Regions from separate parts of the Homo sapiens genome. Here all the other regions are linked to region 5. The links are contacts of gene promoters, found by promoter capture Hi-C in human tissues and cell types (Jung and others, 2019). All regions are on one chromosome and are shown on one strand. The core of a region is centred on a gene start or on the middle of the fragment in contact, and the rest is flanking DNA. Distances in the headings are between cores, read along the strand shown. Region 1 has its middle 14 kb from the start of LINC01428. Region 2 overlaps TMX4 (thioredoxin related transmembrane protein 4). Region 3 has its middle 130 kb from the start of HAO1. Region 4 has its middle 11 kb from the start of LINC01751. Region 5 holds the start of FERMT1 (FERM domain containing kindlin 1). Region 6 has its middle 280 kb from the start of HAO1. Region 7 has its middle 100 kb from the start of HAO1.

Evidence for each region. Contacts are between HindIII fragments. The study calls those that stand out against the background at their distance.
Region 1: a contact is called between a fragment that was not itself captured here and the fragment with the promoter of FERMT1 in region 5, in 2 of the 25 tissues and cell types used here (dorsolateral prefrontal cortex and mesenchymal stem cells).
Region 2: a fragment that was not itself captured here is called in contact with the fragment with the promoter of FERMT1 in region 5 in 1 of the 25 tissues and cell types used here (mesenchymal stem cells).
Region 3: a fragment that was not itself captured here is called in contact with the fragment with the promoter of FERMT1 in region 5 in 1 of the 25 tissues and cell types used here (dorsolateral prefrontal cortex).
Region 4: a fragment that was not itself captured here is called in contact with the fragment with the promoter of FERMT1 in region 5 in 1 of the 25 tissues and cell types used here (mesenchymal stem cells).
Region 6: a fragment that was not itself captured here is called in contact with the fragment with the promoter of FERMT1 in region 5 in 1 of the 25 tissues and cell types used here (dorsolateral prefrontal cortex).
Region 7: a contact is called between a fragment that was not itself captured here and the fragment with the promoter of FERMT1 in region 5, in 1 of the 25 tissues and cell types used here (mesenchymal stem cells).

Annotation. Positions count from the first base shown.
Region 1 is chr20:7,266,441-7,270,340 of GRCh38, forward strand. No RefSeq gene overlaps it. Among named protein-coding and RNA genes, the nearest start is that of LINC01428, 14 kb to the left of the region's middle. The HindIII fragment of the contact is 3,548 bases long and covers 1-3,166 here.
Region 2 is chr20:7,999,842-8,003,881 of GRCh38, forward strand. TMX4 (thioredoxin related transmembrane protein 4) reads right to left here. Exons shown (of 8, transcript NM_021156.4): 3 at 1,655-1,700; 4 at 1-19. Among named protein-coding and RNA genes, the nearest start is that of TMX4, 18 kb to the right of the region's middle. The HindIII fragment of the contact is 3,749 bases long and covers 841-4,040 here.
Region 3 is chr20:7,813,368-7,817,258 of GRCh38, forward strand. No RefSeq gene overlaps it. Among named protein-coding and RNA genes, the nearest start is that of HAO1, 130 kb to the right of the region's middle. The HindIII fragment of the contact is 3,145 bases long and covers 1-2,983 here.
Region 4 is chr20:7,293,971-7,297,903 of GRCh38, forward strand. No RefSeq gene overlaps it. Among named protein-coding and RNA genes, the nearest start is that of LINC01751, 11 kb to the right of the region's middle. The HindIII fragment of the contact is 7,428 bases long and covers 1-3,933 here.
Region 5 is chr20:6,120,322-6,124,355 of GRCh38, forward strand. It overlaps FERMT1 (FERM domain containing kindlin 1), which reads right to left and starts at 2,709. Exons shown (of 15, transcript NM_017671.5): 1 at 2,453-2,709. RefSeq lists a silencer at 2,595-2,714. The HindIII fragment of the contact is 15,378 bases long and covers 1-4,034 here.
Region 6 is chr20:7,657,544-7,661,105 of GRCh38, forward strand. No RefSeq gene overlaps it. Among named protein-coding and RNA genes, the nearest start is that of HAO1, 280 kb to the right of the region's middle. The HindIII fragment of the contact is 4,745 bases long and covers 1-3,562 here.
Region 7 is chr20:7,835,033-7,839,011 of GRCh38, forward strand. No RefSeq gene overlaps it. Among named protein-coding and RNA genes, the nearest start is that of HAO1, 100 kb to the right of the region's middle. The HindIII fragment of the contact is 5,656 bases long and covers 1-3,979 here.

The sequences.
Region 1 (3,900 bases), core at 143-2,642, 1.1 Mb after region 5:
CTGACCACATTATATGAAACTACCCTATTATATTTCTATAAGCTTGGTGAATTTATTTAGGTTTAAATAACTGGATCACACAATCACAGGTACACCAACTTGTCCAATTCATATTTTCCAATTCCCAATCCAATTGTTCTTCACAATTAAGACAGATAGACGCTGATTGTTTTGTTGTATGCTTCTGGTTTTATTATGTAAATAAAATAGACTTTGGTTTACCCCCTTCCAAGTCAACTGAAAGAAGACTCATCTACACAGATGGAAAGACTTACTGACTTTGTACAAAGCAAGACCAATCCCCCCATCCAGTTCAACCAACCTGCAAGTACTTAGACTCACCCTGTAAATATGGAAAGCACAATGATTCCACAGTAGTTTATCCAAGAGTATTGTAATTTTCAACACATTTCAATATGGCACATTATTAATCTAGAAGGAAAAGTGAAAAGGAAAGATGACCATCTTTATTGGATGGGATATTTCTTTATAAATTACCATTTGTCAGAAAGCTTTATTGAGATAAAGCTTAATTTGTGGTTTGATCCCTTTTTATTTTCCTTTCATCTCTTCTAATCCTCAAACATTTATTTGCCTCAGGGAAGCTCTATATGACAGGTTTAAAAGTGAACATTATTTTTAGACTACCTGGCTTTCAAAGCTCTGTTTTCCAGAAGCCTTGAAATCAGGGAAGGAGAGAAGGAGACACTCCCAGAAGGTGTTCTGGATATAAGGTGACTAGTAAAGAAGCTAAGACCAAAGAAAATTTTGCTTTCTCTTGTACTCAAGAGGGCAGAATCCAAGCATGGGCTGTTTCTCCAAGAATTTGAAAAACCCTGAGTTTGGGGCAGAACAGCACTCAGAGTTTGAAGATGCCAGTTATCAAGAGATTTTCAGGCTTGAGCAAGGAACAGTGTTGCAATATTTTGCAAAGAAAAATACATGACAACCAATTAAATTTGAATTTCAGGTAAATGTTGAATTACTTTTTAGCATAAGTATGTCCCATGCATTATTTGTGACTAAATGTTCATTTATATTTAAAGCATTATTTATACTAAAAATTATTCATTATTTTTATGAAATTCACAATTAGCAGGTATCTTAGTCTGTGCTAGTATAACAAAATATCACAGACTGGGTAATTTACAAACAATAGGAATTTATTGCTCATAATTCTAGAGTCCGGGAAGTGCAAGATCAAGCAACAGTTGTGTTGGTGTCTTAAGGGCTTGTTCTCGGCTTCCAGATGGTGCTTTATTGCTGCATCCTCTGGAGAAGAATGCTGTGTCCTCACATGGCTGAAGGGGTAGAAGAGCAAGAGAGTATTTCCTTCTATACCTCAGGCACCTTTAGAAGGGTACTAATCCCATTCATGAGGATGGAGCCCTCATGGCTTAATCACTAGCCAAAGGCAACACCTCTCAAAGTGGTTGCAATGTGGATTAAGTTTCAATACAAAAAATACAAATTTTGGAGCACGCACCATCATTTAAACCACAGCAGCAGGTGCCTTTTATTTTATTTGGAAACTATAAGAAGGTGGACTTCATTATTGATTATAATGGACTGATAGAGACATGTCCTAGCTTTCATATTTCAGATAGCAAATAAGACTTTGGGAATATTGGGCAAAATTAGGCTAGAGGAATGGCCCTATTCTATAATGGCTAAGACGTATTTTCCACTAACTGGACAAAAGGAAAACTCAAAAACTATTTAATTGATTTAAAAAAATAAACAAATTTGCTATTTCTTGTATATCAAATCTTTGAAGATTAATACTCACTATAATCTGAATCCCTGTCTGTTGGAGACATGTTTCCCAAGATATCTTGGGTAAGGCATATGGTCACTTTATTGTAGGTGGATAAAAACATGGGAGAAGAGAATCCTCAAGATTTGCTGTTTTTCCCTCAACAAGATAAGAGGTCATTTATCATACTATAAAAAGAGAGTGGGAGACTCCTGGAACCATGTTTCTGAAATACGTAAAGCTTGCTGTCACCAGAACCCTGGAGGTTTTTTTATTATCTTGTATATTTTATTATTTTTATTTTTAATTATTATTGATATATAATAGTATCTTTTTATGGGATCATGTGAAATATTAATAAAAGCATACAGTGTGTAATGATCAAATCAGAGTAATTGGTATACCCATTACCTTGAGTATATATTATTTGTGTTAAGAACATTTCAATTCCACACTTCTAGTTATTTTGAAAGATACAATAAGTTAACTATAGTCACCCTATTGTGCTACTGAATACTAGATATTATTTCTTCTATCTAATTCTGTTTTTGTACCCATTTACCAAACCATCTTTATTCAATCCCCACTTCCTATTACCCTTCCCAGCCTTGGTATCCATCATTCCATTATCTACCTCCATGAGATTATTCTTTTAGCTTGCATGTATGAGTGAAAACATGCAATATTTGTCTTTCTGTGTCTGGCTTATTTCACTTAATACCCTCCAGTTCCATCCACATTGTTGCAAATGACAGGATCTGATTCTTTTATATGCCTGAATAGTATTCTATTGTATGTATGTACTACATTTTCTTTATCCATTTATCCAGTGATGGAACTTAGGTTGATTCCATATCTTGGAACCATAAATTGGTTTTGATGGAAACCCATGTCTCTGGTCAATGAAAAAAAAATGTAGGTTTTTCTCTGTAAGCTGAATTATGTCACATGGTATACAGCAAATGCATTAAAATTAGGATGGCCATCTTTTCAGGAAAACCTAAACACTAAGTTCCTCTACATGACTTATCTTTCCACATATGTCTTCCTTTATAGTGAAAATAACCTGATACGAGATGGTCATGGATGTGGCCCACTGAACTCACCATGCCTCACATTCCCACCTGTGAACAGCAAGGGAGGAATAATATTATAGATAAGACACTTGTTTTTGGAATGGAGCACAGCTGCTGTGTAATGGCCCAGAGGAACCCCAGCCTGAGACCAGAAGTGAAGGAGAATCCCTGCCTCACTCAATCTGAAAGGGAAATCAAAGCAAGCAGATTCTAGTGTCCCAAGCATCAGGACAAGCCAGTCAGGAGGACTAACATCCCTTCTCTCAATGACATTATGCCAAGAGTTTTTGTTTTGTTTTGTTATTTTTTAAAATGAGCAACAGCCTTCAGATCCCGAGTTTAAAGGCCTGATGCAGGCCTGAGTCATTGGCACTGCTCTGTAACTCCTCTCTGTTGCAGGTGTGCTGCCGGGCTCCTCTGGGTCCAGCCCAAACGCCCTCCCCTTCCTCCTCACTCCCCTCTCTCCACCTGACAATTGTAAAATTTAAGGAGCAGATCCTCTCAGGGTGGTATAGCTTCAGGCACATGAATTCTTTCCGGGGCTCTTTGAGCTTGGAAGCAGTTTAAAGGTAAGAAGGTTTGAAGAGTGAATGAGTTCCCAAGAATAAACATGTTTCAAAGGAACCTGAATGAGGGACTCTGTTTATGCGGGTTTTATATGACGTTTGCTTACTTAATGTAGTAACTCCTTGAACATATTGCCTTGTATGATATAATTTATTTACATAATTCTGGATTGGAAAGTCATGAGCAAACCCAAGGAAAATTTCTAGAAAAAAGAAAACTTGTTTTTATAAGGATTTTAAAATTAAATATATGTATGTGTATACTTATGTATATCTACGTGGATGTATGTAAATCCACAGATACAGAGATTATATACATGTATAGCTAATAGACTTAGATTAGATATAAATATTTGAAAAAGATGGCAAAATAAATGTAGATCATAAGCCAGTTTCCAGCCTGTTTTAATTTATGCCAAATTATTTCCTACAGGATATAAAAGAATATGGTGCTTTTAAATTATTCCAATCCAAGTTTTGCTTTTTTAAAGCATTTCAGTTT
Region 2 (4,040 bases), core at 1,465-3,964, 1.9 Mb after region 5:
GAATATCCCATCCTTTGCACTATAAATTATGAAAACAAGTAGAAAGCAAATGCATTAAAATAACGATGTTACAGATAATAAAAATTAAAATAGCTACTGGTGATACATCTGAACGCCATCTGAACTTTAAATTGACTCAATTGAAAAATATACATAGAGATAAATCAGAAAGAGTTAATAAGCTTTACTATAAGTGAGAAATTCAAACCTAAAAGCGTTAACATTCTATGTTATCACCGTACAAAGTGTGACTAAAAGCAGAGTTCTTGGCAGTGTTTAATATGCCAAGTTACTTTTTATTATTTTTGCTACCAATTACTTTTTCTCTTACAATAGCAAAACAGCCATTGTTATCAAGTTTAAAACATTGTATCCACATTTTCAAATTTATGTCGTTCAAGGCCCTCTCCTCAAACATCAACAAAAAACGTCATACCCCCCTTCAACCTGGCCTCCCTCTCACCTACTTGCAGCAATCAGGGCCCCCAGGGAAGAGTCTAGGCTTGCTGTTTTCTCCTCTTTATGTCTCATTCACTACTTGGTGCAACTGGGGGTTCTGCTCCCAGGACTCCCTTGAAACCACTCATACTGGGGGTCTCCAATGACCCCTAAGTGCCGTATCCATTTCTGTTTCCTTCACCTGTTACTGGCATTGTTCATTCACTGCTGAATACCACTTCTTTCTTCCTTGTGCTTGGCTTTTATGACAGGAGCTCTCTGGACTTCTTCCTACTGCTCTGAGCATTACTTCTCCATTTCCTTCACTCACTGTCTTCCTTGCAGATGTCCTAATGTTGGCCAATCCCAGGTTCCATCCTTGACCTGCTTCCCTTCCCCACCATACATGTTCTCTCTAGATATATTTCAACTTTTACCTCAATGCTGAGGAATTCTCAATATGTATCTCCAGTCTAGATCTTTCTTCTGAACTCTGGATCCTGACATCAAACTGTACCTAGACTTCTCCATTTGGAACTGGGAAGGGCAAGTCACACTTATCTTTTGCATTTTTGTCTCTATCTTCCAAACCTCCTCTTATTTTAATGGCTCCTAATCATGAAGGCAGGCAATAGCTTTTACTAGTTAGTTACACATGGCCTGTTGGTAGTCATCATAGACTCTTCCTTCCCACAGCTAATCAGTCACCAAGTCCCACTGATCCTACCTCCTAAGTATCTCTGGAATTCACTACTTTCTTTATCTTTCCCCTGCCTGTACCTGAGTCTCTCTGGCCTCATCACTCAGCATGATCCAGCTATACCTGTGGTCCAGCCATAAAGAACTAGTTCAAAGTTCTCAAAAGGTAGCTCATTCTCTCTTGGGCTTTTTTATGCTATCTCCTTTAACTGGAAAGACTTTCTCTACCTTGTTGGCTTAATGCATTCCTACTTAGATATTAAGAATTACCCCACCTCTGATATCACCAGAGAAATCTCTGACTTCTCCTGCCCACCTACGCCTGACATTAGGACCTCTGTCTCTGCAGCACTCCAGGAAAGCTTCTCTTGTCACAGCTCTCACTCAGAGCACACCAGCCTTGTTTCCCTCACATGTTAAGCTGAATGAGTGGCAGTCATGGAAGACAACTTAGAATTCCTGGTACACATCTATTGATTTCTAATATTTGCAAGATTAGAAGATTATTTAAACTTACTGAAAAAATGCTGGGAGAGTGGTGACAAAGAAGCGGCCACTCAAACCTACAAGAAGCATAAACAGAACAAAAGTTACACTTAAGTCCTCCAAAAAAAGCATTCTTGAGCTTACTTTCATAATCACATTATTAAAATCACTGCAATTGTTGACTCACATTTACTATTTTTTTTGACTTACAGAAATTTCATTTCTACCTATTTTTATTACCTAACACTTTCTAGTAACTGACATACAACTTGCATCACTTGGATTGTAAGGAGGCTGAAAGGATAGGATTTAGAGTCATGCAAACTGGGGTTTTGCAAAGTTAAATACCGACTTACCCATTTATTAACTTTATAACTTTAGATTATTTAACCTTTCTTAGTCTCAGTCACCTTTTTTCTATAAAATGGGTATATAAAAGCCTAACTTAATGGTTCTAAAGTTAGATTAGGGCAAGTGTTATTAGGCTTAGCATGGTGCTGGGTACATAGTGAAGGACTCAACAAACTATAGGTATGATTACATCAGTTATCAGTTTAAAAAGAATAAGTAATATGAAATGATTAAGATCATGTATAATGTTTGTACATTTATAAAATCTGTAAGTACCGTAAAGGGAATATATGTATGTGAAAAATATTTTTTCCAATTTGTTTTAGCAAACCTTTACTGAACACTAAGTACATATCAAATGCTATGTTATGTGCATGTAAAGACAAAGATAAATAAAACCCTTAGTACCTCAACAAATATTTACCAAGCACCTTCTTTGTTCCAGAGACTGTGGTTACCACTCAAGACACATGGATGAATAAAAACATGTACAACCTTTATTCTCACAGAGCTTATAGTCTAGTAGCAGAAGGAAATAACTTATTCAAATAATCACAATCACAACCACAAACAGAGAATGAAAATATTTAAAAAAAGGGTAGGTATGCAAAAAAATGCTGAATGAGACTAGGAGTAAAGAACAGATCCTTGCCCTTTAAATGTTACAAATAAATAATATTTGCATGGGCACCAAGAATAAGTAAAGAGAATGAAAGCTTAAGGATCCTCCTGGCCAACATGGAAAAATGACAGAGGCATCATTTTAACATTTTCCATCACAGCTGCCTTTCCCACTGTAGAACAATGTGGACAAAATCAAATATCCATTCAAATTAAGTTGCTCAAATCACACATCCCTGTGGTAACTTGCAATTCAAAACACTGAAGCTTTACTTTTAATAACATGGAAAATTTACTTTCACCCATTTTATAAATTAAATCCATATTCAACATAATTTAGTAACAAATGATGCGTCTTCTCAAAGAATTCTGTATTTTATTTCATTTCAGACCAAGTGGATTCCAAAACATCTCAATTGTATTTAAAAGGAAACACAATGCTCTGGATTAGTAAAAGTCAAAGTCACAAAAAGAAACATTTACTACAAAAATTTGTCATTGTACATTGGAAAAAAAAGTTTTGTCACCAGTAACATAAACACGAGTGACCCAAAAATAGGTCAACTGAGGATTGTAACAAGCACTTCTAAGCGCATTTTCATCTCTCACATTGCTCAGGATTTCACCCTGGAGGGAACAAGGGTATCCTACAGTATACTTCCAATTCTAACTTGCCAGGGGAAAAAGTACTGTTATTCCTAAATACTTAAAAAACTAGTATATGCCTTTGGTTTAAGATAATTATTATGAACAGCTTCATACATTACTTCTTACCTAGCTATAGTTCCTTATGACCAGCCAAAAATTTTATCTAAAGACAGTTACGGTATTAAGAATGTATATTTCATTTGTATGTTTTTTTAAAATGGAATGAAGAAATTAAATAGTATCTCATCACCTCTTAAAGTTTTTTACTTAGATTTTATTTTTATCAGAATAAAGAGACAAGATTTCTATTAAATGTTAGGTATCACTTAAAGTGATTTTTTAACTTGCTCTTTTGTATGTTCTTAGTCATCACTGGCTATGACAATAAATAAAGAAGTAAATAAATAAGTAGAAAAATATTTCATAAAACACATTTAATTATACAATATATAAAACATTTCCAGATTCAGGAGGCTTTAGTCTTAAGTCTTTTAGAAATTGCACCTCATTTCAGAAAACATAAATTATCTTTACAAATAAATGTACTCATGAAAATCAGTGAGTACCAAGAAAAAGTATCAAAGTCACAGATGGTCTCTGAGGTTTTTCTGCATCTTTCTGGTTCTGGCTAAAAGGAATAACAGGAGAGTTCTTCCCAAAATTGCTAGATTAAAGGGTATAATAACTTTATGTCTCTTGATATGAATTGCTATGTTGTTTCACTGACTACTGTACCAATTTACAAGGCCATCAATTAAGGTTTATTAAAATAAAGACCAATAAATCATATCACCTCA
Region 3 (3,891 bases), core at 161-2,660, 1.7 Mb after region 5:
CAAATCACAATTAGTGGAGTTTATCCCAGGAATGTAAGGTGAGTTCATCATTCATCATTCAGTCATTGCAATTTACCATATTAAAATTGGAACATTAGTACATGCAGGAAAAGCCTACAATAAAATCTAACATTATTAATGAAACGTTCACATATATTAACAATAAAAATGCTTTCAAAATACATTCTTATATTCTAATAAGAGATATGTATAAAAAAACCTACAGCTAAAATAAAACTTAGTGGTGAAAAACTAATTGATTTTCTCTTAAGCTCTACAAACTTTGGTCTTTGATGTTGGTGAGCTTTGGATGGGGTTTCTGTGTTTACGTCCTTTTTGTTGATGTTGATGCTATTCCTTTCTGTTTGTTAGTTTTCCTTCTAACAGTTAGGCCCCTCTGCTGCAGGTCTGCTGGAGTTTGCTAGAGGTCCACTCCAAACCCTGTTTGCCTGGGTATTACCAGCAGAGGCTGCAGAACAGCAAACATTGCTGCCTGTTCCTTCCTCTGGAAGCTTCGTCCCAGAGGGGCACCCACCAGATGCCAGCCAGAGCTCTCCTGTATAAGATGTCTGTCGACCCTTGCTGGGAGGCGTCTCCCAGTTAGGAGGCACAGGGGTCAGAGACCCACTTGAGGAGGCAGTCTGTCCCTTAGGAGAGCTCAAGTGCTCTGCTGGGAGATTTGCTTCTCTCTTCAGAGCCGGCAGACAGGAACGTTTAAGTTGGCTGAAGCTGTGCCCACTGTCACCCCTCCCACCAACTGCTTTATCCATCTTTCTGTTGATAGGCACTTAGGTTGCTTCCAAATTTTGGCTATTGTGAGCAGTACTGCAACAAACATGGAAGTGTAGATGTCTTTTAGATATACGGATTTCCTTTCTTTTGTGTATATACCCAGCAGTGGGATTTCAGGATCAAATGGTAGCTCTATTTCTAGTTTTTTGAAGAACTGCCAACCTGCTCTCCATAGTGCTTGTACTAATCTACATTCCCACCATCAGTTTAAGAGAGTTTCTTTTTCTCCACATCCTTTCCAGCAATTGGTATTGCCTGTAAAAACCGCAATGAAAAGCCACTTCATACTCACTAGAATGGCTATAATCAAAATGACAGACAATAACAAGTGTTGGCAGGATGTGGAGAAATTGGAACCCTCATACCTTGTTGGTGGGAGTGTAAAATGATGCAACCAATATTATTTGAAGTCAGTCTGGCAGTCCTTCTAAAGGTTAAACATAGAGTTACCATATGAGCTGGTAATTCCACTCCTAATTGTATACCCAGGGGAAATGAAAACATATGTCCACAAAAAAAAAGTATTCACAAATATTCATCTCGAGCATTATTCATAATAGCCATAAAGTAGAAACAACCCAAATGTCCTTCAATCGATGAATGGTCAATAAAATGTGTTATATCCATATGATCACATATTGCAATTTTATTCAGCAAGAAAAGTAATAAAGTGCTGATACATTCTATAATGTGGTTGAACATTGAAAACATGAAAAATAAAAGAAGTCAGGCATAAAAAATATACAAAAAACTGTATTAAATGATTTTACTTATATGAAAAGTCCAGAATAGGCAAATCTATAGAAACATAAGTAGAGTAGAGCTTGCCTAGAGTTGAGGATTGTGGGTGTAGGAAAGATGGATAGTGATGCTAAATGGATATCGAAGTTTCTTTGTGGGATGATTAAAATGTTCTAAAATTATATAGTGGTGATGGTAGTATAAGTCTGTGAATGTGCTAAAAATCACCAAACTATAAATGTGAAGTTGGTGAATTTCATAGTATGTGAATTAAATCTTATATTTTTTTATTTTATTTTTTTTTTTTTTGAGACTGAGTCTCAGTCACTCAGGCTGGAGTGCAGTGACACGATCTGGGCTCATTGCAACCTCCGCTTCCTGGGTTCACGTGATTTTCCTGCCTCAGCCTCCCAAGTAGCTGGGATTACAGGCATCTGCAGCCACACCCGGCTAATTTTTGTTTTTGAGTAAAGACGGGGTTTCGCCATGTTGACCATGCTGGTCTCGAACTCCTGACCTCAAGTTATCTGCCAGCTTCGGCCTCCCAAAGTGCTGGGATTACACGCATGCACTACTGTGCCTGGCCATGAATTAAATCTTAATAAAGTGTTTAAAAATCAAAAGAAAAGAAGCTGACATTTTTTGTCCATCAGACTGCAAAACCCTACAACCATATCAATGGGCTTATAGTTCCTAAGTGTGTAATTCCTCCCTGCCTGGGCCTAGAAGCTCCCTATCTATCCACATTCTTAGCCAGAGGTTTCCTCTTCTTATCTCATAATACTATTTGCCTAGTTCTCAGAGACCCCAGAGTCTTAACTGTCTCTTTCTGCCTTTCTGTCCCAGAAAATTGTGATCAACTACATAGTAGTGATGGGATTTTATCTCAGGACTTCCAGACATTTAATCCACATTTCTCTTTGAAATATAATTATCTGTTTGTAAAACATTAATACAAAATCAAAACAAATATTTAATTTATACTATAAACTGGATATATTAGAATAATCGTTTGCATTCAAGTTAATTTATTTTACATGAAATTTAAATGCATCTTCTACCTTCTGTCTACAAATATTTAAAATGCTTATAAATGAATCATTAATTAAGACTTGCACTACTCTAGGGCTTCTAAACTGATCTTTGTGTCACCTCTGGCCTATGCATACCTATGTAGTTATAATGTCCAAGTGCATGGACTTCTACCTAAGCACCCCCTCAATCTGGAACTGCATCAAGATCACTTGACTTGTTAAAACACTGATTGCTGGGCCCCACTCTCAGGGATTCTGATTCAGTGTTCTCCAGGTAGAGTGTGAGATTCTGCATTTCTGACTAGTTCGCAGGCAATACTGATATTGCTATACCCAGACCATACTTGAAGATCAAGGGGCTACAGCACTAGCCCCTGTATCTCATACTCAAGCCTCAGTCAAAGCTTACATTTATCACTCAGAGGAAGCTTCTGTCAAAGCAGTTGTTTAATAATAAGTTCACATATAGCAGTCCATCATGTTTTAATAATCGCATATTACTGCATTACCTTTATATGATACATTTTGGCCTTTTGTCGTTTGACTTTTACAATTACAATAAAGAATGTTACCAATTATAAGATATTGTTTGCAATTTATAACAAAATAGTGCCCTAATAATTCACTTTCAGGTTTTTAGTTCAGTTAATCTTAACACTATAAAACAAGGGTTTTTTTAAAAAAAAAAAAAGTTAATACATGTAATTATGGTTTCAAATGAGTGGAATTTTCTTGACTTTTTAATCAAAACAAATAATATAAATAAACTGAATGCTGACACATTTAATGAATTAAATGCTATAACTGCTAACCATAAAAGCCAGTAACCAATATCAAACATATCATTATGACCCTACTATTATTATAATATTATTTTAAAAGTGATTTTTTTATTTGAATTCATACAAGAAATTGTAGGAATAAAATGTCACATTAACAGTTTCATATACCAAGTTCCCTATAAACTTTTATTTTTAAAAATGCTCTGTTTGAGAAAGAAAGATGAAGAGAGGAAAGAGGACGGGAAAGGAGAAGGAAGGAAACAAAAATCATTGATCCAGAGCAGTGCTTCTCAAGCATCTCAAGTATTGATGTGCTGGGGAACTTATAGATCTTTTTGGGATCCTGGTCAAGTGCAGATTTTGATTTAGTAGGGTCTGGAGAGGGTCCATGATTCTAGCAAGCTTGTAGGGGATGCTGATGCAGCTTATCACTGGATCTCACATTGCATAGCATGGATCTAGATCATCACATGGCTTCAGAATCACTGATGGACTATCAAGAGGGAGATAAGTAAGCATAGCATTATTGGAATGGGAGTAGG
Region 4 (3,933 bases), core at 448-2,947, 1.2 Mb after region 5:
GGGATTACAGGCGTGAGCCACCGCGCCCGGCCGACAATACATTTTTCACCAACATTTTATACAACTATTTTCAGACATAAGCCAAGTTGAATAAATTTTACAGTAAACACTTGCATATCAACTACCTAGACTCTAACATGAACATTTTTCTATATTGCTTTTTCACAAACCTATCCATTTATCGATCCCTCCATTTTTCTATACTTCATCTTAGTTTTTTGTACATTTTAAAGTAAATTGCAGATGTCAGGATGCTTTCCCCTAAACACTTTAGCAAGCATATTATCAACTACATTTCAATATGTCTTTTGAAGTGGAATGGAATAGTAAGCATATTTTAAATACATAGACCTGTGTAACCCAAACCTCTATCAAGGTAGAGAAAATTACCATCATCCCAGGAAGTTCCCTAAGAGCAATCTTCTGATGTTTTTCACCATAGATTTATTTTAGAATTTTATATAAATGAAGCTTATTGTACTCAACATAAGATTTCCAAGACTCAGACAATAATATAGACAGTGGTGCTTTCAAGTCTGCAGCAGTTTTGTTCCTTTTCTGGAGTCTGCCCTTTCAGAAGAGCTCATTGCTCCTCCCCTTAGTTCTTCTTGCTCCTCTTCCTACCCCCTGCTCAGTTTGTATCTCCTTTCTTTTTTTCTAATAAATACAGTTTCTTTTAAAGTTCTAGATGTTGTCATTGCTCTTACTTTGAATTTCTATAAGGGCTTGTAAAGCATTAGGATGCTCACACATCAGGAGGAACAACGTTTTATTCTTTACCATTGAACTAGTAATACTAGTTTTTCCTTTTAGGATGACTTCATTGAGTATATATTAAAAATAATGGAAAAATAGCAAAAAGGAAAGAACATATGTGATGAATCCGTGACCTCATGATATCTTATTGAGGCTGGGAGCATTTGAGGTCTGAGATTTTCTGGTATGCTCAAGGCCAGAGCAGCAACATGCATCCTTTCAAAATAAGGCAAGTTGTCACTTGTCTCTGGCCAGAATTGGTCAAGATCATGGGGTAGGTGATGAATGCTGCCGACGTCCCATGACACAGCTATTGATATGTGGCAAGGAGCCACTCATCTCTACTAAGAGATGGCATGTACCAGAGAGGGGCTGTGGGAGTAGATGACTGTCCACCAAGTAGTGTGTAATTCAAGGGATGTCTCAATGTCAAGAAGTTACCTTTGACGTCACAGATTGGCCAATGCCTTCATGTTATAGCAGACCATCATATTAGGAAAAGTCAGTCTTTCTAGATTGAATAAGGACAAGTCCAGGGTAAGCGACTACTCTAGAAACCTAACCTGTAATCTGAAGAAATGAAAAGTAAAATGTCCAGCAATAATACTTCGGGGGCCTTAAACCTCATATTTTCTTGAGCATCTTGTTTCCTGTTTAATTGTCACAGCTCAAATATTATGTTTTGCAAATGTATGTGGGGTGTATTTTATATGTTATACATATTAATTTATTTTCATTTATTCTGCTTGAAAATTTTTACATAAAATTAAAGTCTGTCATAATACTTTATCTTCTGTTTGTGGTTAGAGTAGGTGTCTTTACTTTCTTTATGATCTCTTTGTTCAGGTAAGAAGGGCTATACTGGAGTGAAATCATAACTTTAGTTACATCGTAACATTAGAAACGGGCACACTCTTGTAAACAACTGCAACAAATGGAGATTATGCTTACAGCATAAACCTCAGACTTGTGGGTATTTTCTTCTTTATGTTTTAATAAAAATACCGGAAAGGAAAGGTTTAAACTCACTAGAGTTATTTTGAGAAAATCGATTTCCATAAATATATTTTATTGCTCACTCATAAATTTATACTTCCCTTTCTCTCACTGCATAATTGGTTGGTTTCCTGCATACAGTTTAGCTCCATCGTTCATGTTTTGATAGGAATTTTATCCCTGGTATTTGTCTGTTCCAGCCATTCTTTCTTTCTTTTTTTAATTCATGAAGCCTTTTTAAAAATTATTTAATTTTATTTTTATTTTAAGTTCTGGAGTACATGTGCAGGATGTGCAGGTTTGTTACATAGGTAAAAGTGTGCCATGGTGGTTTCCTGCACCTACCAACCCATCACCTAGGTATTAAGACCAGCGTGCATTAGCTATTTTTCCTAATGCTTTCCCTCCCCATGCCCTCACCCCCCACAACAGGCCCCAGTGTGTGTTGTTCCCCTCCCCGTGTCCATGTGTTCTCATTGTTCAGCTCCCACTTACAAGGGAGAACATGTGGTGTTTGGTTTTCTGTTCTTGCATTAGTTTGCTGAGGATAATGGCTTCTAGTTCCATCCATGTCCCTGCAAAGACATGATCTCTTCCTTTTTATGGATGCATAGTATTCTATGGTGTATATGTACTATATTTTCTTTATCCAGTCTATCCTCGATGGGCATTTGGGTTGATTCCATGTCTTTGTTATTGTGAATAGTGCTGCGATGAACATACACATGCATGTATCTTTATAATGGAATGATTTATATTCCTTTGGATATATTCCCAGTAATGGACTTGCTGGGTCAAATGGTATTTCTGGTTCTAGAACTTTGATGAATTGCCACACTGACTTCCACAATGGTTGAACTAATTTACATTTTATATTTACTATTCTAATTTACTATTTTCTAATTTACTATTTCTCTACAACCTCACCAGCATTTCTGGTTTCTTGACTTTTAATAATTGCCATTCTGACTGGCATGAAACGGTATCTCATTGTGGTTTTGATTTGCATTTCTCTCACCATCAGTGAAATTGAGCTTTTTTTCGTATGTTTATTGGCCTCATGAATGTCTTCTTTTGAGAAGAGTCTTTTCATGTCCTTTCCCCACATTTTAATGGTTTTTTTTTCTTGTAAATTTGTGTAAGTTCATTGTAGATTCTGGATATTAGACCTTTGTCAGATGGATAGATTGCAAAAACTTTCTCCCACTCTGTAGGTTGTCTATTTGCTCTGACGATAGTTTCTTTTGCTGTGCAGAAGCGCTTTCATTTAGTTAGATCTCATTTGTCAATTTTTGCTTTTGTTGCAATTGCTTTTGGTGATTTCATCATGAAATCTTTGCTTGTGCCTATGTCCTGAATAGTATTACCTACATTTTCTTCTAGGCTTTTTACAGTTAGTGTTTTACATTTAAGTCTTGAATCTAACTTGAGATAATTTTTGTATAAGGTGTAAGGAAGAGGTCCAGTTTCAATTTCTTGCATATGGCCAGCCAGTTCTTCCAGCACCGTTTATTAAATAGGAAATCCTTTTCCCATTGCTTGCTTTTGTTAGGTTTGTTGAAGATCAGATGGTTGTAGATGTGCAGTCTTATTTCTTAGTTCTCTATTCTGTTCCATTGGTCTATGTATCTGTTTTTGTACCAGTAGCATTGGTCAGCCATTATTTTAGTAAAAAGCTGAAGCTCTTCACTACCTGAAGAATAAAATCCAAAATTCTTAGTATGGCATTCAAGGCTTTCCAGAAGCTGGCACGAAACTGTTTTTCTAATTTTTCTTCTGCTCCAGTATTTCTTCCCAGTTTCCTTCCACTTCTTTCACAGTTCCCATCATTCTTGCATTCTTTGTTGTCTCTGTGTACAATAGCTTTTTTTTTGGTACAATTTTATAACACTATAGTTAGGGGAGTGTATATCCACCTACTTATGTTACTGGTGGCTTCTGTGTCAGGAAATAATCTATAACCTACCTACTTATTCTTTTGATGTAGATGACCTACCCATTCACCTTTTTAAAGAATGTTTGTAAATTGTGGGAAAATATACATCATATAAATTTTGCCATCTTAACCATTTTTAAGCATTACAGTATAGTGCCATTAAGTACATTTACACTGTTGTTCAATCATCACTACCATTCATCTCTAAAATACTTTTGTCATTCCATAATGAAACTCTGAACCTA
Region 5 (4,034 bases), core at 1,459-3,958:
AAATTTGGATACATCTTTGGCAAAAGATTTAAAAACAGGAGTAACAGATATAAAAAGCTCACTCTTCAAAGTACAGATAGGGATGTGAATTTCAAACCCATCGTTTTCCCCTCATGGGAGAAGCTAGCAGGAAAGAACGTTCACAACTGAAATGTTTCAGGGGGTAACTGGAACACTGGAATCCAAATTGGCAGAACTGAAACAAAACTTGAGATGTCAGTTCTCTCTTACTTTTAAACAGAAAGAAATAATGCTACTGCTCCTGGCTGTTTTAAACATTTAAAGTAAAAATTATTTAAATGATAATGAGTCTTTTTCACTTTACTATGTAAAGCCAGCTTATGAGAAATTCATGTTTTCATAAGGCCTATTTTTAAGAAACATCAATGCACTCAAACTCCTAAGAAAGGGCTTCTCTGAGGGTGTACACAAATCCCCCAGGGATCCTATTAAAATGCAGATTCTATTCAGCAGGTCTAGGGAGGGGCCATACATTTCTTAACAGGCTCCAGATGTTGCTGGTCTGTGGGTATACTCAGTTCTTCCCTTCAACCTATTTAGATCAATATTAAACCAGGGATGATGGTAATATCCGAGGAACATTACTTTTAATAATAATTAAACAACCAGTGTCATATCTGTTCTGCATGTTCATTCGAAACGACTCATTTGTAAGCATAAGAGAATCTCAAAATACGCTACACAGATAAATTGAATACTGCAAATCTGAACAGATTTAGGACAGATTTTATGGGTGAGGATGAAATTCAAGAGTTCAGAAGTAGCTCCTTATGTTTTTGTTTTGTTTTTGTTTTTTTTGAGATGGAGTCTTGCTCTGTCACCCAGGCTGGAGTGCAGTGGCATGATCTTAGCTCACTGCAACCTCTGCCTCCCGGGTTCAAGCAATTCTCTGCCTCAGCCTCCCAAGTAGCTGAGATTACAGGCGTGTGCCACCACGCCCGGTTAATTTTTGTATTTTTAGTAGAGACAGGGTTTCACCATGCTGGCCAGGCTGGTCTTGAACTCCTGATCTCGTGATCCACCTGCCTTGGCCTCCCAAAGTGCTGGCATTACAGGCGTGGGCCACCACGCCCAGCCGTTCCTTATGTTTCTATAGTCAGAAGCATGCAACGATGCAATGCATCTCCTCCCCATGCACAGAGATCCACACAGAACCCTCTGCATGAGGAGTGCCACTCAGTGACTGCATTAGGCCTAACTGCTTGCCTCTGTCATCATCAGCTTCAGGTATCATTTATTACCTACTGACTGTATGATGTGCTCTGTGTTAACTCCTGTCTTCTGTTATCCCTTTTTCATCCTCTCAGCAATCTCATTTAGAAATGAGGAAACTCAGCCTCAGAGAGATGAAGCAAGTTGCCTGAGGTCACACAGCAAGTTAGATGCTGGAGCCCAGGTGGAAATCCAGGTCTGCCTTTCTATTTCAAACTCTTATTCACCACACTGGGAAACCACTTTGATAATGTTGCAATGCCAAAATGAAAGAAAACTCCTCAAACTACGTGAACTAAATTCTCAGTAGCCTTTACTAAGCATTTCTATCAACACAAATCTTGCGCAGTGAGGAGACAAAAGATGCCCCTTCATCGTCAAACTCATAACTTGGCATTGAACTGTTCGACTTTAAGATCCTTACAATTTCTTAAATGCTATAATTGTGAAGTCTAGTTATTTAAAATGTTTTGTATATAAAGAAAATAACTTTTAAAGGTGATTCCTTACTGCTTATTTCACTGGGCAATCTGATATAAGGTCTTTTCCTAACTTGGGTGATCAAAACACTACTCATTCAGGCAATAGATGCTGATTCCCCTTACAACAAAATGCAGGCTAAAATTAGCCAAGCTGGTTTTCCTGCATTCCTTTCCTATCTTTCTGTGCCTTCATTTTTGAGTGAACGTCTAGTCTGCAGCAAGCTGTTACTTGTCAAGGATAGCAGCAAACTTCAGCCGGGAAAACGCATCTAAGGAGACCAAAACAAGAAGCAAAGTTACTGGCAGAGTGCTGAAAAGCCCTTCGCAGACAGTCAAAGAAACGAAAGCATGGAGGGATGGAGAGCAGGAAGGAGGAAAGATGAGGGGGAAACAGTCCCCGACCCTTCCCCTGGAATATCTGAAGGTGCTTGGTGTTCGAAGGCCACCCGACCTGTCTTTTGCCAGCTCTGCAGGATCCTGGGGCGGATGTTGGGTGGATAAAGCATGCCCCTTACTCCCATTAAGGCAGCACCTGCGGCTGAACTGAAAGTTTATTTTGCGGCCAGATGCGTAGGGCCGGAGAAGGTGGTCACATCCAGACGAAATTATTTTCAATCAACAGCTATTTAAGTACAAGAGGCTGCAGAAAGAAAGGGGCTAAGGGGGCTCAGGAGCCACTGGTGCCCATGAAAGCCTCCCAACCTCTAGCTCCCCAGCCCTAGCTCCGGAGCACCCACCTCCTTTCCAGGAGCCCGTAGCGTCCAGCCTCGCAGTCGCGCACGTGGAGAGCTGCGTCCCTACAAACTACCCCGGGCCGAGCCGAGGAGCGGGCGCTGGCGAAGTGGGGAGCGGGGGGCGCCCAGTGGCGGCGGCTGCTCAGCTAAGGCTGCGGCAGGTGAGGGCTGGAGCCAGGGCGAGCAGGCGAAGCTGCCTCGGGACCTCCCACGGAGGCTCGGTGCCTGCCCCCAGCCTGGCGCGGCGTGCCCGGTGCACTGCACGGCCCCAGCGGCCCGGCTGAGGGCAGCGCGCAGCGTGGCAGGCGAGGGCACGCCCAGCCCCGGGCCTGCTAGGTCTCGCTCCCGCGGAGAGGAGGCGCAGTCTGCAGATTTTTAAGGGCAAAGGGTGGCCGAAGGGCTGCTCGGCGGAGAGAAGGCGGCGAGAACCCGGGGCGCACGCTCAGTATCTGCAGCTCCTCTTGCGATGTCTCATCCTGACGCTTTAAGGCCGCCTCCAGTTTCCCTGTTCCCCCAGGCCCGCCGGGGACTAGCCCAGATGATTAAAGCCGCGCCACTTCCCCTCCTTTCAGGCATACCCATCACTCACACCCCGGGGTGCGTCCAGGCCCAGGAGACTCCAGCCTCCCGCCTAGAACAGCTGCCTCCCTCAGAAAGAGCCCCGGAGCACTTGTGGTCAGGGAGGTGAAGGCAACGACAAAACGATTCGTCTCTGAGTAAGAGGGTGGTGTCAGTCTCCAGAAGGCTGAGGCTCCCGACCAGGGGAGACTCCAGGAGACCCAAGGGCAGGCTGCATGCGGAAGTCTGGGCCACACCTGGTATGGCTCACCTCAGGATCACCACCGGTCCCGCCAGTCGCCTTCCTGTTGGATTTATTTTCAAAGAGGGCTGGGGCCACCCAGGAAGGGTGGGTGACCTGGGCAGTTTACACAACCTCTCCAAGCCTCCTTTGTTCATTTAATCACATTTGTTGAGTGCTTACTGCTCTACAGGCCTCCCAATGGGCCTGGGCTCAGAGAATACAGTGGTTAATAAAACAGACATGGAAATGACAGTTTCCTCATCTGTGAAATAGGTACAGAGATAGAATGCGTGCTCTTCCACGGAGGGATTTCATGCAATATAGTACAGGCTTTAGCGATTTGCATTAAAAGGCTTGTGAACACTTAAATTTTAATAAAGAAGTTATAAAATTTAGAAGTTGAATCTGTTTTCGCTTAAACATTACCATATTCAGGAATTATTATGGGTTTGAAAGTACATTTAATTTAAAAAGGTTAGTTGAACATTGTTGGCAAATATAGGATATTATAATTGAAATAAAATCATTAAAAACTTGAAACAGAATGTCTTCACTTGGTAGCGTTTGTCAACGATGGGAAGGGTCATCTGGTCCCACTTCCCTACCTCTTAACATCATGAAACCCTGCTTATGGCCCATTAGAACTTAGACTGTGGTCAGTGCGCGCGCGCGCGCGCGCACAAACACACACACACACACACACACACACACACACACACATATATTTTTTTGAGATGGAGTCTTGTTCTGTCCCCAGGCAGGAGTGCAGTGGCACGATCTTGG
Region 6 (3,562 bases), core at 972-3,471, 1.5 Mb after region 5:
TTACATCTAAAATAATAAAACATTAATCAGGGCAGCATGATGTTTTACAAATCATGAAAAATATATTGCATCTTTACCCTATGATCTGTCTCTTTTGTCATATATTTTATTGCTTGGGATTTATAGGGCCATATCTCTACGTGGCTTATGCAACAACACACATCAATGTGTCTGCCTTCAATCATCAAAGGGCAAAAATTCAGGTCAGACATTAGTCATTTGCCAAGCTCATCTGGATTAATGAAAGTCTAGAGCTTGCAATCAGCATACAGAGAGAACAATGAAGGTATGTCTGTAAGTAATGTCAACTTACTCCTGAACTTGTAATACCCAGACTTATGCCTGCTTTGCTTTTAAATCAAAACATAATTGACTGTTGCGATACAAAGATTTTTTTCCACTGCAGCTGTTGTTCTAATAGCTACCATAGCCCTACACAAACCATAGCCCTACACTAACCATAGCCCTACACTAACCATAGCCCTACACTAACCATAGCCCTATTAATTTTCACAAAATAAGCAACAAACCTCTTCATATATCTGGCTCATTAATTTCTGATGGAAGTAGAGCTCCTTTGGGCAACTTTGAATGGAGTAAATAGACTCTTAAGTGGAAGTGAATGTTGTCATTTCTGTTGGTACTCTCCATACAACATATGGCCTGAAAAAATGAAAGCTTTTAAAGACCTGTGGGGAGACTTTCCAATGGAGTAAAATCATTGTACTCTGAAGCACTTTGCACTTTTTCCCAAAGCAAATAGTTTATAACATTTAATTCTCACAATCATCCTGTGAACTCAGCAGAGTAGGTGACTCTATGTCTAATCAACAGCTGTGTAAACTCAGCCCCTATGATTTGCCCAAGATTAGAAAGATTGACACAACAAAACAGAAGTCCTGGGCTAGAATGGTGCCTTCTCCACTGTATAATCCTTTAAGACGATAATATGCCAGGAGGAAGTCAATAAATGGTAACTGAAAGATCCAGAATAAGCTCAAATGTTCCAGAAATAATTAAATGCTAATGAAGGACTAGAGTTTTCTTAGCTGGTGAGTTAATTGTTGAAATGAGTTAGTGAATAAGCATTTTCAAAATACTAATTGAAGACAAAGAAGAAGAAATTATCAGCATCATCAAATCCTACAATGAGTGTCTAAAAATCTCAATTTATCTCTACAACTTTACTCAATGTCACAGAAGCTTCTAATAAGGGCTTGAGATGACAAAATACCTAGACTCTATAGTTAATAAAATTACATTCAGATCATGCTACTCTCCAAGTAAATCATTCTTTAAATGTTACCTCAAGTTATGGCCTCATTGGTGCTTTAAAAAACACAAGCAATATACAAGAGGTAATATATTAAACGACTTAAGAGAACAGATTTGTAGAATTGCTTTCTGGAAGGATATTTAAGCTTTCTAGGTATACAATTTATGATATTTAAAATGTGACTGGTATTAGTTTTAAACAAGTTAATGTACATAAAACTTACTTTTTGCCTGGAAGATAGTCAGTGCTCAATACATGTTAGCCAAACAGCCTTACTAGTATCTCTTACTCTATTCTATGTGCCTCTAGAACTGAATCAATGCTATCTATCCTATGACCCAATATTGAAAGAAGTGAACCAGATTTCAGTGGGTTCTTTCCTCCCTGCTTTGTCAGAAAATTGTTAGATAAGTGGCATTGAAGATCAGACAAAAGCCTCTTTGTGTGGCTTTTCTCCAGATAAAATGAGAAATAGTATCCAATATAATCAGCAAGATAAATTAAAACTTGAATTGTCCCCAATGAAGGAAAGGTATCTTTCATAACTGCTCATTGTAAATAGTGGCATCCTGCAGGAATCCCTTTTAAATATTTACTCCCAGAATCAAGTTATTAAAAAAAGAAAAAGAAAGAGAGAGGAAAGGAGGGAAAACAGGAAAGGAAGGATGAGGCAAGGAAAGACAAAGAAAGAAAAGGAAAGAGAGAAAGTAAGTTTGAAAAATTAAATAGCATTCCATTAGCTACAAGATCAATGACTTTTCCAAGTAAAGGAAAGGATCTTGGACAAAGCCAGAAATCAAAACCAAAGCAAAACACAAACAACAATTTTGAAAGGGAAAATGTATTTATAACATATTAGTCTTTCAAACCTATTTTGTCAGTTATTTTCCAGTGCCACTAATAAAGTAAGTGGTAACACAGGAAGAAAAACAATACTCTAGGGCCAACTATTTTTTCCTATCATGTAGTCAAGGCTTTTAGACACAGGAAGATTCTGTGTTCTGTGGAGAAGTTATAATACAATAGTGTTTGCAAGTGAGGTTCATCCCACTTTGGGGCAAAAGATAAGAAAATGGGCACCTTGCTCATGACATGGAATTTCATTCTTGAATGACTTGGTTTGGAGACTCTGCCTTTTTGGGGTGATATTTGCACAGTTTGCTTCCTTTAGAGATTTGACTCTTCAACATATTTTTGAAAACATTTCATGCCATTACAGAGTAGAAAAAGGAGAGAATGGAAATTTGAGCTAGAGCCGTGAATAATTTATCCTAAACTTCCAGGAGATTCCGATTATTTGATATCTTCTTCCTGAGCAAAGAATGCTCTTGTTAAGGAGGCTTGGTAAACTTATCATTCTCTTTCTAATGTCCTTTTGTGTAGGCTTTCATGGGAGGGATGCTGCAGACAGATAGACCGCAGGTTCTTTTAGACAAGAAATGGGAACTATAGCAGAATGTTTTCTAGGATTTGGCATATTGAAATAATTCTTGTGTGCGCTCTAAATCAGGATCCTTCAGTAACGGTGATGATGATGATAATGATGATGCAATAATATTTACTAACTTTTTATTTTGAGCCAAGTTTCATTGTCAGGGCTTTGCATGCAATATCTCATGTAAGCCTCACAAAAAGACCCATGATCTGTATTAACTTTATTGGATACCTGACTAAACTGAGCAAGGAATAATGATGCAGAACATGGTACAAGCCTTTGTTTAATTAATGTAGAAGTACTAACAACAGAAAAATACACAAAAAATGGTCCATCGTGTGTATGCTACAGCTTAGCTCTCAAGCTTTTTTTTTTTTTTCCTGAGATTGGGGAATGGTAGGACCATTGAGAATACATCAACAACTGAAATTATGGCTATCAATGACTCTGGCCAGCCTACTCAAAGACATACTTCCCATGACCAAGTGGCCTCTTTGCTGCTGCCAGAAGATCAACTATATTGACAAAAACAAAATTACAGAAGCAAGATTTACTGTTACCAGACTGTTTGTAATTTTTCCTTTCCATTTGCTCCTCTTTTATGATCCCTCCTTTTTTTCCATTGACAATCATCTAATTACTTTTCTCTTATTAGTATATTTGTAAGTACAAAATTATATATAAATTTCAGAAATTAATTATAATTTTCTGAGTTATTCTTTGACTTGCATCCTAGAAAGGTTAAGTATCTTGCACAAGTAATAAACCTAATAAGTAAGGGAGCATGTATTGGAACTCAAGCAGTCTTATTTGCACTAGATAATCTCCTCTACAAAAAAAGGTCTAAAGTT
Region 7 (3,979 bases), core at 315-2,814, 1.7 Mb after region 5:
TACAAAAAATATAAATATTAGTGATTAAGTAAACCTAATAAATTCACTTGATTCAAACATAATAATTGATTTTAATAGTTATCATTGTTTTCATTATCATTATCACACCATCATAAGTAAGTGACAACACTAAAATATTAGAAATTATAAGCAGATTATGTTGGTGGTAGATTATGTAGAATTCTTCCTGAGCATATCTTATAGTAGTATCTAGTCACTTTTTATAAGATGAGCAAAAGAAATAAGATGGCAGCTGGCAGGAAAAAAAATGTTTTTGAAAACACCTCATCAAGTACCTACCACAGAGATAATTGTGCTTTGACAATATCTTAAAGTTCCTCTCAAATTCTAGTACAAAAGTTTTTGTTACAGAGCCTGAATTCAGTTACATCTTGGATATACACAATACTATGTGATCTGTTTCTTTGTTGTTTGTCATCTATCACTCCAAATGACACATATTTGGTGGTAAAATAGGAAGACTTTTAATTCATTATTCCAGAGATAAACTGTTCCCCTTACTGAGTTTTCCACTTCTCAGTTCATAACTTTACAACCTAGAGCAGAATATTTTTGTCATGTCTATAACCTTCCCCAAAAATGTATAGAATTATCCTATCAATATGGTAGCCATAATTTCAAATTAAATAAAATTAAAATTTCAGTTTAGCAATTGCACTAGCCAGATTTCCAGTGCTCAATTGCCAACTATAGCTAGCAGCTACCATAACTGGGAGAACGGTTTTATAATTCAGCGAGTTCTATTGGATAGTGCTGAATCGTATATCAAATGCTGTCCAGTTACTTGTTAAAACCTAATTTAAAGCTAAGATTTTAATAACAGTGTAGTTTTGTCATAACATTTAATATTTGGCTTACAAGGTAGCTGATGTAATTTAAGATAGAATTAAATGCAATTGTTGCTAAAATATTCCACTCTGTTGCCACACTCTAGAAGTTATCTACAAATATACTCACAAACAGGCTGCTTTACTGGGTAACCAGGGTTTGAATTAGCCCTGCAGCATTATTTATTGCTGTGTAAGGAATCATTCCAAAATTTAATAGTATGAAAAGGCAATAGTCATTAATTATCTCCTATGATCTCTATAGGCCAAGAGTTCAGGAGCAGCTAAACTGAGCAGTTGTGGCTCAGAATCTCTCATGAGGTTGCAGTCAGATGCCAGCTGGGGCTTAGCCATCTGAAGACTCAGTGGTGCTGGATGATCCATTTCTAAGGTGGCTCACACAAATGGCAAATTGGCTCCTCTCCAAGGGACTTCTTGAGTGTTTTCACAACATGACTAGCTTCTGGAAGAGCTAGTAATCCCAAATACTAAAGCAAAAGCTGATATACCTTCTATGACCTAGCTTTGGATGTCTCATACCATCACTTCTACCATATTCTATTGGTCACACAGGTCAGCCCCAAGTGATTCAGTGTGGTGAGAAGCACACAAGGACATGAGTATCAGGGCACAATTGTCAGTGGAGGCCATCTTGGAGGCCAACTACTACCCTACACTCAGCCCACAGTGTTTCTTGCTAGAGTATAGGGGTTAAGCACAAAGAGTGAAAGACATTACCAAGGAATTTAGTCACACTGTCTCGTGCCTGAACATAGATTTGTCTAGTGATTCCCCAAAGGAAGCTCCATGTTTCATTCACCCTTTGAGCTTTCCTCAAATGATCAAGATACTGGAACACTTCCTGCTCACCAGCCTTCCCCACATGAAACACATTTACCACATAAGGACAGGAAACTTTACAAAATCAGATCTTTAATTGTTTTGACCTTAGCTGCAAAATGGAATGTCTTGGAGGTCTTTTTTAAAAAATTACTGATACCTAGGTCTCACCAGAGATTGTAATATAATTTGTCTGCATGCAATCCAAGAATTAGAAATCTGAAAAAGACCCCCAGGTGATTCCAATGTTCGGTGACAATTGAGAACCACCAATTAGAGGAAGACCCTTCTGAATGTTCTTTTCTGTGACTCCTCTCCTTCTTTAAGTGTTTCATCATACTTCACAGCCCTTAGTTTCCAAATTCTGGCTCTTGTTTTTCAACACAATCCCTGAGAAAACTCTTCACTTCCCACAAAAGTTGGAGAATATCTTGGTCATTTTCAGCATCTAGTTACCTCCATTAACCCAAGATGCAGCTCATCTTTACAGAATCCCAAGGGGCAAAAACTGGTTCTAGTTTTAAGACCAGAGAAGAAAATAGAATGTTTGAATCCACTTCAGGCCTTGACTGTAGGATGCTGCAAATAATTTTCTCACTATTTACCTAAGAAATAACCACACCTTATCAAAAGGAAAATTAATATTTACCTGAAACAACACAGTTCTATCTAACATAAGAAAACAAGTTCCTCCTGTTAACAAGACCTTAACCCTGCTCCTTGTGAAATAATAAATAAATCACCTCAGCATGATGATGTTAAGGCACATCTGATCCTTTCAAGATCTGGCTTATTTTGCAAGAGAAACAACAGTAGTAGAAAAAGACTTCTATTTTAGCCATCTGGACTAGTGCTAGCAGTTCTATCTATGTGGTTTCAGACCTTCATAATCTGTGCTCTTATAAACAGAAGAGAGGTGTCTCACTTTATTACACCACATCATCAAACAGAGACACTCCATATGTCTATCTTCATAGGTATTTTCGGAAAAAAAAGATCTAGATATCAGCAATTCTCACAATTTTAGCTTGCATATGAATTACCTGGGATCTTGTTAAAATGCAAATTCTGAGTCATGAGTGGGAACCGAATTCTGCATTTTTAACAAGCTCTGGGAGACATCACGTTGCCAGTTCACAGACCACACTCTGAGTATCAAGGATCTAGATACTATAGATAAATAAGAATAATAACTACAAAGCACTTTTCATTTCTTCCCTTTGATCTCATGCTTGTCCACAGAATTAAAATGGTTTTATCTCACCTCTCCTCCCACTTTTTTATTCACAAAATCTATAATATTTAGAGAATTCTATTATTCTTATACTTTTCCTCTTTTTTTATTATGGCAAAACGTCTTCTGAACTTCTTTGTGTTATAAGAGTACAGATGAGTTTGTGAAAGAAAGACTGATAGGAAACAAATCCAAGATCCCACAAAAAGGAATTAAATCTTCTTTACCAACCAGACTAAATATTTCACAAATATGTGTTCTTCTAGAATTGCTATCACAAAACATATAGAACATAATACTTACAAAATGATTCATGCCTGGGAGTATTATGGTTACATGATAGTCGGTAGTTTACTGGCTGTATTGCTTTATTTTATTTTAGTAGCCAATCTATTATTCAGGTCTTTAGGACACAGGAAAAAAAATATGCTCATTAGAAACATAGTACCTCCTAGCTTTGGGGCGAGGAATCTATATGTAGTCTAATTAGCTATAAGAGATAGAAATTATGTTCATTGTTCTACTATTTCTTTGAAGCATTCTTTGTCATTATGATCCTGGGCCATTCCAGTGGATTATCTTCAACGATAAAACCAACTAAAATATCTTCTGGACCTTCCTTGTACATTAATACCAGTTCAAGAAATTACTGAAATATTTTGAATAGTAAATTATTGAGTTAATTACAAGACAGTGAATAAAATTGACACCTTTCTTTTGTCTTTTATAATTATAAAAAAAAGTCTACTGAAAGAAAGAGCAGAACAAAACATTGAAAACAACTGAAAAGACACAAAATGTGTCTTTGTAATCTTGGCTACTTACTACAATCAGGTTAAGCTTTTCAAAAATCCACTTTTATTCCAAAATTATTTTAACTATAAAAAGTCACCAAACAAATATGACTCAGTATTTAACAAATTATATCATTCTTAGAACTGTTAGGTTAAAGTTACTCCAAAATATTTCCAATTAAAGTTTCTGTAATTGATTTACATTTGAGCACATAGAGAAAAATTTACTCCCAAATTGCTATAAAAGTAGTTCGGTACCCAAT